3 separate regions of the Homo sapiens genome follow, and regions 1 and 3 are each linked to region 2. Evidence: promoter capture Hi-C in human tissues and cell types (Jung and others, 2019). All regions are on one chromosome and are shown on one strand. The core of a region is centred on a gene start or on the middle of the fragment in contact, and the rest is flanking DNA. Distances in the headings are between cores, read along the strand shown.

Region 1 (4,120 bases), core at 92-2,591, 280 kb before region 2:
AAAGAAACAAAGAGGCCAGTTGCTGTGCTGTGGTGTCAATTTTTAACCTAGACAGAAGGTGGTAACAGGCAGAAATGGCACAGTACAAAATGCTGGGTATAATCCCAGCTCAGCCATTAGATAGACTGGGTCTACTTGGTTCACTAAGTTTTTTGATCCTCTATTTGTTCTTATACAGATAATAATACCTTCCTAGCAATGCATGGCACAGAGTAAGCTCATTTATTAGGGTACTTATTACTACTACTGTAAATAACTATACTTGATCATAGCCAAAAGGCCAAGAAGCAATTAGTACTATTAATAACTGTATACAAGTGATGTCATAAGATAATGGTCAAAAAAGCTCTTACAGTTAAAAAAAAATGCATGTTCCTCAGAAGTATCAAAATGATGTCTACTCATTCCTTGCAGCCGTATCATAATGCAGTTCAATACATTTCTGCTAATTCCACAAGTATTTTTCAAGAGCATGCTCACAGGTGGCAGAGGTGGCAAGCAGTGGCTTCTGGAGTGAATGGTAGGAGCTGTTATTATTGGAACGTTTGCGCCTTCTGGAAATTTTTATGTTGATCTGGTGCAGATATTCCCAGTTTAAAAAACAATCAAGCCGGGTATGGTGGTTCACATCTGTAATCCCAGCACTTTGGGAGGCCAAGGTGGGAGGATCATTGGAATCTAGGAGTTCAAGACCAGCATGGGCAAGATGATAAGACCCCATCTCTACAAAAAACGAAATTTGCCAGGCATAGTGGCGCACACCCATAGTCCCAGCTACTTGGGAGGCTGAGGCAGGAGGATCTCTTGGGCCCAGGAATTTGATGCAGCAGTGAGCCATGATTGTACCACCATACTCCAGCCTGGGTGACAAAGTGAGGCCCAATTAAAAAAAAATTCATATGTTGAAATCCTATCCCCAAAGTGATTATATTGAAAGATAGGGCCTTTAGAAGGTGATTAGATCATGGTGGCAGAGCCCTCCTGAATGGGATTAGAGCCCTTATTAAAAAGGCCCAATGGCCAGGCTCATGCCTGTAACCCCAACACTTTGGGAGGCCAAGGTGGAAGGATCACTTAAGTTCAAGACCAGCCTGGGCAACACAGGAGACCCTGTCTCTACAGAAAATTTAAAAAATTAGCTAGGCATGGTGGCATGCAACTGTAGTCCCAGCTACTGGGGAGGCTGAGGCAGGAGAATCACTTGAGCCCAGGAGTTTGAGGCTCCAGTGAACTACGATTGCAGAGTAAGACTGTGTCTAAAAAAATAAAAATTAAATTAAAAAGGCCTAAGAGAGACACCCTTGCCCCCTTCACCATATGAAGACACAGTAAGAAGGCACCATTTATAAACCAGAAAGCAGGCATTCACGCCGACAGTGAATTTGCTGGCACCTCTGTCTTAGGCTTCCTAGCCTCCAGAGCTGTAAGAAATAAATTTATAATTTCTGGCCAGGCACAGCCAGACACACTGACATATGCCTAAATTATTATGAAAGTATCTGATCTCTTTTTTTCACATATCTATTAAAAATTTCTTAATTGTTAAAAGTAACTGAGTCAGAGAAGTAAAGCAACGTTTGTGTCCACTATTCTTTGATTAATTAAGGAATAATTAAGAAACAGAATTGACAAGGTAATTTTCAACTCCTTTTTGTACTAGAGAGAAAGGAGGCTCACTAACAAAAGTATATACTACAGGCTGGGTGCGGCAGCTCGTGCCTGTAATCCCAGCACTTTGGGAGGCCAAGGCTGGTGGATTACCTGAGGTCAGGAGTTTGAGACTTAGCCTGGCCAACATGACGAAACCCTGTCTCCACTAAAAATACAAAAATAAGCTGCGCGTGGTGGCACACGTCTGTGGTCCCAGCTACTCAGAAAGCTGAGGCACAAGAAGCCCTTGAACCCAGGAGGCGGAGGTTGCAGTGAGCCTGGGTGACACAGCAAGACACCATCTCAAAAGAAAAAAAAATTATATACTACAGCATGAACTTGTGATCTATTAATAATTAATAGCTAATCAATCATTTCATTATCATTTAGATATGTGAACTTCTTTAGAGAAATTACCAAGCTCCATTTTCACAGAAAACACAGTAAATTCAATGAAACAGGTCCAAGGTGAGAGAAAGAAGGCTGACTGAGGGTCATTTCTGGGATTCCTGCCAGGACCCAGCGTGCTTAATCTGTCCTTGGACTTGCCTGGTCCCATTAATCAAAGGATCTAGTTTGCTGGGAAAATAACATGTTTTTGTGATCTGAAAAGCAGAAATTAAAAGGAAACTGTGACATCATGGGGAAAAAGAGAGCAAATACTATGATTTATTTGGCTGTATTTTCCAACTTTTCTGTAAAGATTACATGAAAAGTAATAGACCAAGGTCTTTGCTGCCCTTCCAAAGTTGTAACTGGTAAATAAAATGGGTTAAACTAATGGGGTGTTTACAAAACATAAACAACTTTAGTACTGACACCAGATCTGTTTAAGTTCAACATGACTTATGTAGATAGTCCTTATAAAATTGTGTTATGGAAAAGACAGGCATAAGTAACTTTTTGCAGTGTATATGGAGGCTTCAATTTCTCAAGAAATAAAACAAAAAATGGATATAAAGCCTGAGAAATTTACACTTGGACTCTACCTTTGTAACAATCACACTTAAGAAAGAAGCATACACCAGGAGCTGAGCAAGCTCAGATCCCCCACGCCTGCTCCAGTACCCAGCAGACAGGAGACACGCAGAGGATGCTGTGTTTTGAGTTGAAGGTGACTCTGTTAGCATGTCATAAAACATGCAGTAGTTTTCCTGCAGAGTATTTTAACTATCGCTTTTCAAATTTAAGCTGCATTATTTGCAACTAAAATAATCTTCAAGGAGAAATTTATTTATGTTTTCTAGTAATCGCTCTGCATAGAAGCCACTGGGATTTCTAAAGTTTCTCTCCTGTGGGAGAAGAAAAATGACACCTAGATCCGTGTCTCTCTAGTTTATTTTTATATCCTCAGGGACTAGCACTATGTCTGGAACAGATGAGGTAGTCAACAAACTGTTTAGAAGAGATGAATAACCTAGCTTTTATAGTAATGATCCATTTCCCTGTTCTAAGTCTAATTAAACTGGTAATTAAATAAATACTTGGTAAACATTAAGGTAGTTACTCATAAACATTACTCAACAAGAAATCTAGATAGACAACTCTGAAACACATCCCTTTCTTCTAGCCCTAACTGGCAAGTTTAGCTGTCTGGACTCTGATTCTGAGATCAAGCTGGGTTTTCTTCAGAGTTTCTAATTCTAAAACAATGGTGCGATGAAATGGCCCCTCTTTGGTACCTAAATTATCAATAGAGAACACTAACTCCTCTCTCTCCTTGTCAAAGTTGCCCTAAATTGGCAATGTAGACTTTTAGCCTCCCTATGTTTGCTAGGCACTATGATTTCAAGTTATCTGCTATCCAAACTTCACTTTCCTTTTTTCTGCCAAAGAAACAAAACAAAACAACAACAACAACAAAAACAAATTAAAAAAAACAAAAAAACAAGCATCACTACTGAGTCTGTAGCAAAACAGTCCACTGCAGGATTAATGCCCTCGACCAAAAGGATTAGAGAGCTACAGAACTCCGCCCTAGGACATCAGAATACACATTCTTTTCCAGTGCCCAGGGAACATATATCAAGATGGACCAATACCCCGGGCCATACAAACCTCAACAAATTTAAAAGAATTGAAATCATATAGAGTGTGTTCTCTAACCGTAATGGAATTAAACTAGAAATCAGTAACAGAAAGTTAACAAAAAAATCTCCAAACATCTGGATATGAAACAACGCATTTCTAAATAATCCACAAGTCAAGGGGGAACTCTAAAGGGAAACTTTTAGGCTGGGTGCAGGGGCTCACGCCTGTAATCCCAGCACTTTGGGAGGCCAAGGCAGGTGGATCACCTGAGGTCAGGAATTCAAGACCAGCCTGGCCAACATGGTGAAACCCTGTCTCTACTAAAAAAATTCAAATATTAGCCAGGCGTGGTGACACACACCTGTAGTCCCAGCTACTTGGGAGACTGAGGCAGGAGAATAGCTTGAACCTGGGAGGCGGAGGTTGCAGTGAGCCAAGA
Region 2 (4,144 bases), core at 600-3,099:
GGCACACAGTTTTGGAACATTAGGAAGAACTTTAGGGATAGGAATACAGGGTGAAAGACATAGATGTCTTTTGCTCTTTAACTTTTCCAGAAAGATGTGCAGATTTACGTGGCTATCAGCACTGTGAGAGGATCTGGGTTCTGACCAGTTGCACTAGGCCCACGTTTTTGTTTTACTTTAATTTTTTAAATCCTAAAAGTCAGGTGCAGGGGCTTTAGCCTGTAATACTAGCACTTTGGGAGACTGAGGTGGGAGCTCAGGAATTCAAGACCAGCCTGGGCAACAGAGTTAGACCCAGTCTCAAAAAAAAAAAAAAAAAAAAAGAAAGCGAGAAAGAAAACGAAAGGGAGGGAGGGAGGGAAGGAAGGAAGGAAAAAAGAAGAAAAGAAGAGAAGAGAAATTAGGGCCAGTGGCATTGGGTCATGCCTGTAATCCCAGCACTTTGGGAGGCCAAGACGGGCAGATCACCTGAGGTCAGGAGTTTGAGACCAGCCTGGCCAACATGGTGAAACCCCGTCTCTACTAAAAATACAAAAATTAGCCGGGCGTGGTGATGGCGCCTGTAATCCCAGCTACTCGAGAAGCTGAATTGCTTGAACCTGGGAGGCGGAGTTTGCAGTGAGCAGAGATGGCACTCCAGCCTGGGTCACAAGAGTGAAACTACATCTCAAAAAAAAAAAAAAAAAAAATTAGCCGGGTGTGGTGGTGCATGCCTGTAGTCCCAGCTGCTTGGGAGGTTGAGGCAGGAGGATCACTTGAGCTGGGAGGTTGAGACTACAGTGAGCTGTGATTGCATGACTGTACTTCAGCCTTGGTGATGGAGCAAGACCTTGTCTCCAAAAATTATATATATATCCTAAGACATCTCCCATGATGATACATTAATTTCATTCAACAAGTATTTGTTCAATCTGCTGTTCCAAGTTTAATATTGAGTACTGGGAAGGCAATAATGAGGAAATACAGTCAGGCGGGGAGTCAGATTCTTCATCCTACAATTATGTAAACAAGTGTCAAGCCCCTGCCATGACAAGCGCCATGTGGGAGAGTAACAGGGTGCTCCACAGCCCTGAGTGGGAGCGTTGCTGAGTCAGGAGGCCCAGCCATCCACGTTTCATCTTCCTTCCAGGCCTTGCGTTTGCTGCTCCGTTTGGAGCACTGCCCAAGCGTTGTCTTAGCTCCTGCTGCGGGGGAAACTGCATGGATAACCTGGGGTGGGGGCAGTGTCTACAGAGGAAAGGACTTGAAAATGCACTTCTCCCGAACTAGGTGATGTTTTCTGTGTGTGTGGCCCTTCTTCACAGTGGCCTCCTAGAAAAACAAGACCCTGACTCAAAGAATACCTCTCATTACAGTAAGACTGTTTGGAATGCTTTACTTTTTTAAAAATTTAATTTAATTGTTTAATGTGGTAAAAAAAATATATAACATAAAACTAACCAGCTTAACCATCTTAAGGGCACAGTTCAGTGGCATTAAGTACATTCTCTTTGTTGTGCAACCATCACCACCACCCATCTCCAGAACTCTTTTAAAATCTTCCCAAACTCTGTACCCATCAAACAACTCCCATTTCCTTCTCTCTTCACCTCTGGCAACCATCATCCTACTTTTTCTTTATATGAGTTTGACGGCTCTAGGAACCTCTTATAACTGAAGTTATCCAGGTCTGTCTGTTTGTGACTAGCTAGTTTCACTTAGCATAATGTTCTCGAGGTCCATTCATGTAACACATGTCAGAATTTCTTTTCTTTCTAAGGCTGAAGAATATTCCATTGTATGGACCTACCACATTGCATGTATCTGTTTATCCACTGAGGGACCCTTGGGTTGCTATGGAAAATAATGCAACTACGAACATGGACATCTGTTCTAGTCCTTGCTTTCAATTATTTTGTGTAGATGCACAGCAGTGGAATTGCTGGATCAGATGGTAATGCTATGTTTGCTTCACTATTTGTCATGTGCCTTTATGCATATTGTGATAAAATTTGATTTTTACAATAGTCCTGTGAGATAAGTAAGCATTGGTCTGTGGTTAAGAGAAGTGATTTCTTCAAAGTGAAATGATGAACGGAAGAGTATCCTGACCTTAAACTTGGCTTTTTTTTATTGCCCGTTCAGCTTGAAGAGTGGTTCCAATCACAAGTGTTACCTTCCAAGGACAATGTCATCCTGGTAATAACCAGCTTGCTCCCCTGCCCTGAGTCTTCTGCCAAGTCTGTCCAGGTGTGGGTCTGGGGCAGGGGACAGCTCATCCATTTCCCACTGCACAGAACGGAGGCTGTGTCCAGGGCCCCAGCAACAAAGGTTTCTCCTCTGGGTTTCTGTTTCCCTCTTTCAGTTCAGTCTGTCATCTGAACCATGAGGATCTGGTGGCTTCTGCTTGCCATTGAAATCTGCACAGGGAACATAAACTCACAGGACACCTGCAGGCAAGGGCACCCTGGAATCCCTGGGAACCCCGGTCACAATGGTCTGCCTGGAAGAGATGGACGAGACGGAGCGAAGGGTGACAAAGGCGATGCAGGTACTCACCTGACGGCTTCGGCTGCCTTTGAGCTTCTCTCTTCATTACTTTCATCTCATTCACTCATCATCTGTGTGGTTTTCCACCTACCCACTCACAACCCATCCATCCATCCACCCAGCAACATTCACTGGAGCCTGACCCCATTCATCCATCCACCCATCTGCCCAGCAACACTCACGGGGTCTGCTCCATGCCAGACTCTGTGCCAGGTGCTGGTGGAGAGCACAGGGCCAGATCGCCATGACCCCTGCCCTCCTGGGTTCTCTCATCTCTGACACCGCAGGACATTTTCAGTAGTATACAATGTCATGGATCCTCCCACCTCAGGTGACAGGTATGTTGGATTTTTGGCAACACGAGGCCAATAGAGAGATCTGATCATGAATTATTTGGCAGCAAGCACCCAGCTGCAGTGCAGGTGAGAGCTAATACCATATCATGTCATGAAGCAGGAGATGCGGAGTGACAGATGACACATACAGCTGCTGCTTATGAATCTATGACCTAGGCAGGGTCTGGGGATCTGGGGACAGAATCCATCCTCTGGGAGGGAGATTTGCCAAAGCCTGGAAGTCTGAGTGCTTTCCATAACAACAACCAATAGACTTGGTTTCTGAATGGGGTACCATTCTTGAGGCCTGGTCTTGACCATAGGGTCACATATCTAAGACTTATGCAGAATGATTCACTGGGTTAAGAGCACAGTTCAGTGGCATTAGAAAGAAAATATCAAAACTTCTATGGACCTTTTTACAAATAAGTTTGTGTTTCTAACATGTCTCACTTTATGGCATTTGGTGGCCTGATAGTTTTTTGAATGGGCTGGATGAAGCCAAGGGTCACCAGGAAGCAACTTTATTTCTTTCTAACCGGCACATCTGCTCTGTGAGGTGTCTTCTCCTGGCTCCTCACATCTCCAGCTCATTGAGACTGTTCCAGTCCCCCGGTAGCAAATAGCCCAGTCCAAATGAATACTAAAACCTTACCCTTAATGAAATCAGGTCTTCTGCCCTCACACTGTGACCACAGTGGTGTGTGTGTGTGTGTGTGTGTGTGTGTGTATGTCTGTGTCTGTGTGTATTTTATTTCTGAATGTTTAGGATTTTCATTTTTTAAATTTTTGTTATAAAATATTACACATAAAAGGAGATAAATAGGTGATACAAAATACAGAGAACTAAGACAAACACTTCTATATTCAATACCAAATTTCTCTACCTCTTCCGTGTTGAATTTCTCTCCTCTGCTCACCAATGTCCATTCTTTCAAGTTTTACATACTTCTTAGAAGCAAATGTTATATCTATTTTTTCTATGTAATTCATAAGTATTATTTGTAATATATATTCTTTCTTAGAAGGACATTCAATCACATTGCTCACACTAAAAATTTACTTCATTTTTATCTTACCATCTTAAAGTGTATTTTTGTGTATGTTTTATACCAAACATATTTTTCATATACTACCTGTGCATAATGTAGAAACATATAAATGTCTACTGATTGGGGTCTGTGTTCATGCTTTGTGAGTTGTGGTGCGTGATCATGAAAGCTCAGAGGCCACTGCTCTAGAGAATGGGAGAAACGAGAGCCAAGCAGGGGAACAAAAAG
Region 3 (4,262 bases), core at 1,345-3,844, 260 kb before region 2:
TCCCTGTGAAAGGAAAACGCAGGGTAGGGATTTTTAAACCTACATGTTTCCCAGGGCCTGGGGCAAGTCTTGAGTAGACTGTTGCAGTAAACCGACTCAAAGGCCTATCACCTTTCTTGTGAGGCTCAAGGCCTAATCATTAATTGACATGAAAACCACAGAAGAGAAGCAAACCCTTCTGTGCTGGGATCTGTGCCCCAGTGCTCCATGTTCCCTGATAGGCAGCTAATGGAATTCATAAAATAAATGCATGCTTTCTACCAGTGTAGTTTTTTAGATGATTCATTTAGTGGCCAGCACTATTATTTATAAATGTCTATTGTCTTTTATAATCAAAGAACAATACCCACAATCTGTAAAATAAAAAACAAAAATTATATTACCCAATGAAAAGTGAAAATTAATTTTATGTATGTTTTTTAAAATATTGAAAAAACTCTGTATGACATTATAATGGTGGCTTCATGTCATTATGCATTTCTCAAAACTCACAGAATGAACAGCATGCGGCGTGAGCCTCCTGTAAGTAATGGACTTAGTTCATCTTAATGTAACAACATGGGCCCATCAATCATAACACATGTGCCACTCGAATGTAAGATGTCAGTACAAGCAGCTGTGTGTGGAGGGAGGGGCGTGAGGGAGTACATCAGAACTCCGTGTACTTTCCATTCCTGTTTTCTAAACCTAAAACTGCTCTAAAAATAGTCTATTAATTAAAGCACACTCCAAGATTAATGATAATTATCTGTGGGTGGTGGAAATATGGGCAAATTTTATTTAATTCTTTGAATTGTTATTGAAATTACCCCAAGTTTTAACAATGACCATGTATTTTTAAAGCTGAAAAAATATAAAAACCAAACCTTGGAAAATTTTAGAAACATAGTATGTGAGGCTAATATCATTGACTGTTCCATTTTATTTCTACTCTATAAAAAATCTGCACAAAGCACTCACAAATGCTAAAATGAAATCTATGTTAGTATTATTTAAAAAAAAATATCACGGTCTAAATTGAGGGTTTTTTTATTATCTCTTTAGAATTAGCACAAATCTGAGGAGCAGATTTTGATTTTTCTTTTAAAAAAATTGTGTTTCAAAAGGTTATTTCTGCCTACTTGGAAACCACTATTAACATTTACATGCAATACTTTTTATAGTGAAGAAAGCACTATATTTGAAACTATGTCCTTGGGAAACAGGCCTGGCCCTCAGATGAATGGATTTCTGTGGAGTGATACCAACTAGACCTGAAGACCCCCGCATCCTTGAGGCCCTGTACAAGCCCTGGGCGAGTGCTGGACCTTGCTGAATCTCAGCTTCCTCGTCAGTGAGCCGGTGACAGTGGGACCTCACTCTGCATTGGGTGGAGAATTAAAACTTTAGCCCATGTAAGACTCTTACTATCTATCAACTTAGCACATACAGGTGCTTGCTGATTGTTTGTTTGTGAGTTTTAAAAAATATTTTTTTCAGGGTTTCAGTGAAAACCTTTTGAGCGCCTGGGATAAAAGATATGTCTGGGTTCAGATTACAAATCTATTAGAGGAAGGCAGGATGGCTCAAGAGAAAATTCACTGATCTGACATGAAGAGGCGGCGCAGTCCAACCTGGCTCTAACCAGCTGTGTTCATCACGGGAGTACATCACCAGCCGACGCTTATTCTTGCTTTTCCATTCTGTTAAGTCAGAGATTAGGACGAGCAATAGCTAAATTTCCTTCCATTTCTACCATTCCTGCGGGAATCACAATGTGGCCTCTGTGTAAAAGCCTAGGTCTCCCGCAGTGGCTTTCTGTCAACATGGCTCTCTATCCACATGGCCGCCATCACTCACAGCCTCGCAGACAAGGCCGGCATCTGCATTCTGTTGTTTCCTGCAAGTGGGAACCTCCAAAGGTCGGTGACCTCTTTTCTTCTCTGCTGATCTTTTGGTACTCAAGACTCTAACTGGAGCCTGAATATTCAAAACTTTCACCCAAGTTCGTCCTAACAACACTGATGCTTTCTGCAGGAGAGTGTCTAAGGATAGAAACTACCACCTCTCACTAAGTCTAACGCGCTTTTTTTGTTGTTGTTCCACATAACATCTCCAAAACTAGAATGTGTCTTTCCCTTAATATTTGTTGGACACTTATGCCACGTTGTTTACATTCATCATTTTCTTAAATCCTCAAGACAATCCTTGAGGTACAGTTATCCTTCTCATTTTATATATGGGGCAAATGAAGTTAGAAGGGTTGAACGAATCATCTGAGGTCACACAGCTGGTGAGCAGTGGAGCCAGGATTTGATCTCATGCTCCTGTTTGAAAATGCTCTGAACAAAGCAGTGCTGTGAGCTCCCCCAGGGTTGGGGAGAAGCAATGCTGTATTCCATCTGCTGAAAGTTCCATTCAGCAGGGGTTTCTCAAGAGGTACAGGGCAGAAAGGAAACTCCTTTCTCCTCATTTCAGTTTTTTTTCTTTGAGGAGCTCCTATAAAGTAACCCGTATGGCTTCCGCCCCACCCTCTACTGCAGAAAAAGGAGTTACCAGCCGGGCACGTGGCTCACGCCTGTAATCCCAGCACTTTGGGAGGCCAAGACGGGCAGATCACGAGGTCAGGAGATCGAGACCATCCTGGCTAACACGGTGAAACCCCGTCTCTACTAAAAATACAAAAAAAATTAGCCGGGCGTGGTGGCGGGCGCCTGTAGTCCCAGCTACTCCGGAGGCTAAGGCAGAAGAATGGCGTGAACCCGGGAGGCGGAGCTTGCAGTGAGCCGCGATCGCGCCCCTGCACTCCAGCCTGGGTGACAGAGCGAGACTCCATCTCAAAAAAATATATTAAAAAGAAAAAAAAGAAAAAGGAGTTACCTGACTGGTTGGAGAAATCCATTGGTAGACTCCCTTGATAGAATAACCTGATTTATTAATTTATTAACAGCACAGAGTATTCACTCTTTTTTAACCTTTCCGCCCAGACTACGGCTGGGAGAAATCTGCGGTCAGTGTCTGGATGCCACAGACCAGACTTTCACCTGGAGGAAGTAACTTAAGGTCTAGACCGGGTTAGGGAAGCAGAGGCAAAGGAGCTGGGAGGTCACTCAGAGATCATTAGCAACAATTGTGCACTCATTCTCCAGATGATTTTGTCAGTAATATCACTGACATTTTTATCTTCATCTAGCAGCCTCCAGCATCTTGTTGGTTGTGAAGGTGGCAGGGGACAAAAGGGGGTTGGTTGAACCACAGATGCCTCTGGCACATAAGGCAAGACCCAAGAGAGCAGGAGAGAACCTGAGCCTCTTCTGCTCTCTGTCCATGTGGGTTCTAGGAAAACTTCATAACCTCACTTTGACCGGCTCCTTATCTGTGATATCTTATGGTGAAAATTAAGTGTAATAATGTATGTAAAGTCCCAGCTCACTGCCTGGCACGTGGTCAAATGCTCAATAACTGGTGGCTATCATTGATTAGAATGGATAAGGTGCGTTTGCTATATTTTATTCTACAGTTTACTAGAGCAGATCTCTCTCTAATTTGAAGCTTCCTAGGATGACAGAATAATGTTTGGCATTTATCACATTATCTTAGCACATAAGTATCTATTTGGCTATTGGGGTGCTGGGAAACCCAATTAATTGAGGCACAGAGAGGAAAGCATTTTGCCTCCAGGAATGGGTCATCAAGGCCAAAGGACTAGAGTACAGATGGGGTGGGCCAGGAGCCAGATCCAGTGTGCCATCTACGGTGCCTCCCTGTCTGCTCGGAGACAGGGCCCCCATCACACCTGGGTTTGGAGGGGGGAATACGAATGGGCAGGGCAGCTACAGGCAAAAGAGGAGAATAAACGGTCTCACGCTGTCCTCACAGTTGCTGTGGACAACAGGTATGGCAATTCCTCAAAAATCAAAAAACTAGAATTACCGTATCATCCAGCAATCCCTCTTCTGGGATATACCCAAAAGAACTGAAAGCAGGGACTCGAACAGATATTTGTACACCCACTTTCATAGCAGCAGTATTCACACAGCCACAAGGTGACAGCAACCCAAGTATTCATCAATGGATGGATGAATAAACAAGATGTAGTAAATACATACAATGGAATATCACTCAGCCTTAAAGAGGAACAAAATTCCGACACACGCTGCAACACAGGTGGACCCTGAGGACATTACATTAAATGCATAAGCCCATCACAAAAGGACAGATACTGTAGGATTTCACTTATATGAGGTATCTGGAGTAGGCAAATTCACAGACAGAAAGTAGAA

The links. Contacts are between HindIII fragments. The study calls those that stand out against the background at their distance.
Region 1: a contact is called between a fragment that was not itself captured here and the fragment with the promoter of C1QTNF9B in region 2, in 1 of the 25 tissues and cell types used here (lymphoblastoid cells).
Region 3: a fragment that was not itself captured here is called in contact with the fragment with the promoter of C1QTNF9B in region 2 in 1 of the 25 tissues and cell types used here (lymphoblastoid cells).

What each region holds. Positions count from the first base shown.
Region 1 is chr13:24,174,642-24,178,761 of GRCh38, reverse strand. The region is part of intron 1 of SPATA13 (spermatogenesis associated 13); the gene reads right to left. Among named protein-coding and RNA genes, the nearest start is that of MIR2276, 14 kb to the right of the region's middle. The HindIII fragment of the contact is 6,907 bases long and covers 1-4,120 here.
Region 2 is chr13:23,895,207-23,899,350 of GRCh38, reverse strand. C1QTNF9B (C1q and TNF related 9B) reads left to right here and starts at 1,849. Exons shown (of 5, transcript NM_001007537.3): 1 at 1,849-1,933; 2 at 2,125-2,229; 3 at 2,345-2,530. The coding sequence starts at 2,365. The HindIII fragment of the contact is 9,082 bases long and covers 1-3,881 here.
Region 3 is chr13:24,155,873-24,160,134 of GRCh38, reverse strand. It overlaps a transcript of SPATA13 not described here. Among named protein-coding and RNA genes, the nearest start is that of SPATA13, 2.7 kb to the left of the region's middle. The HindIII fragment of the contact is 8,626 bases long and covers 1-4,262 here.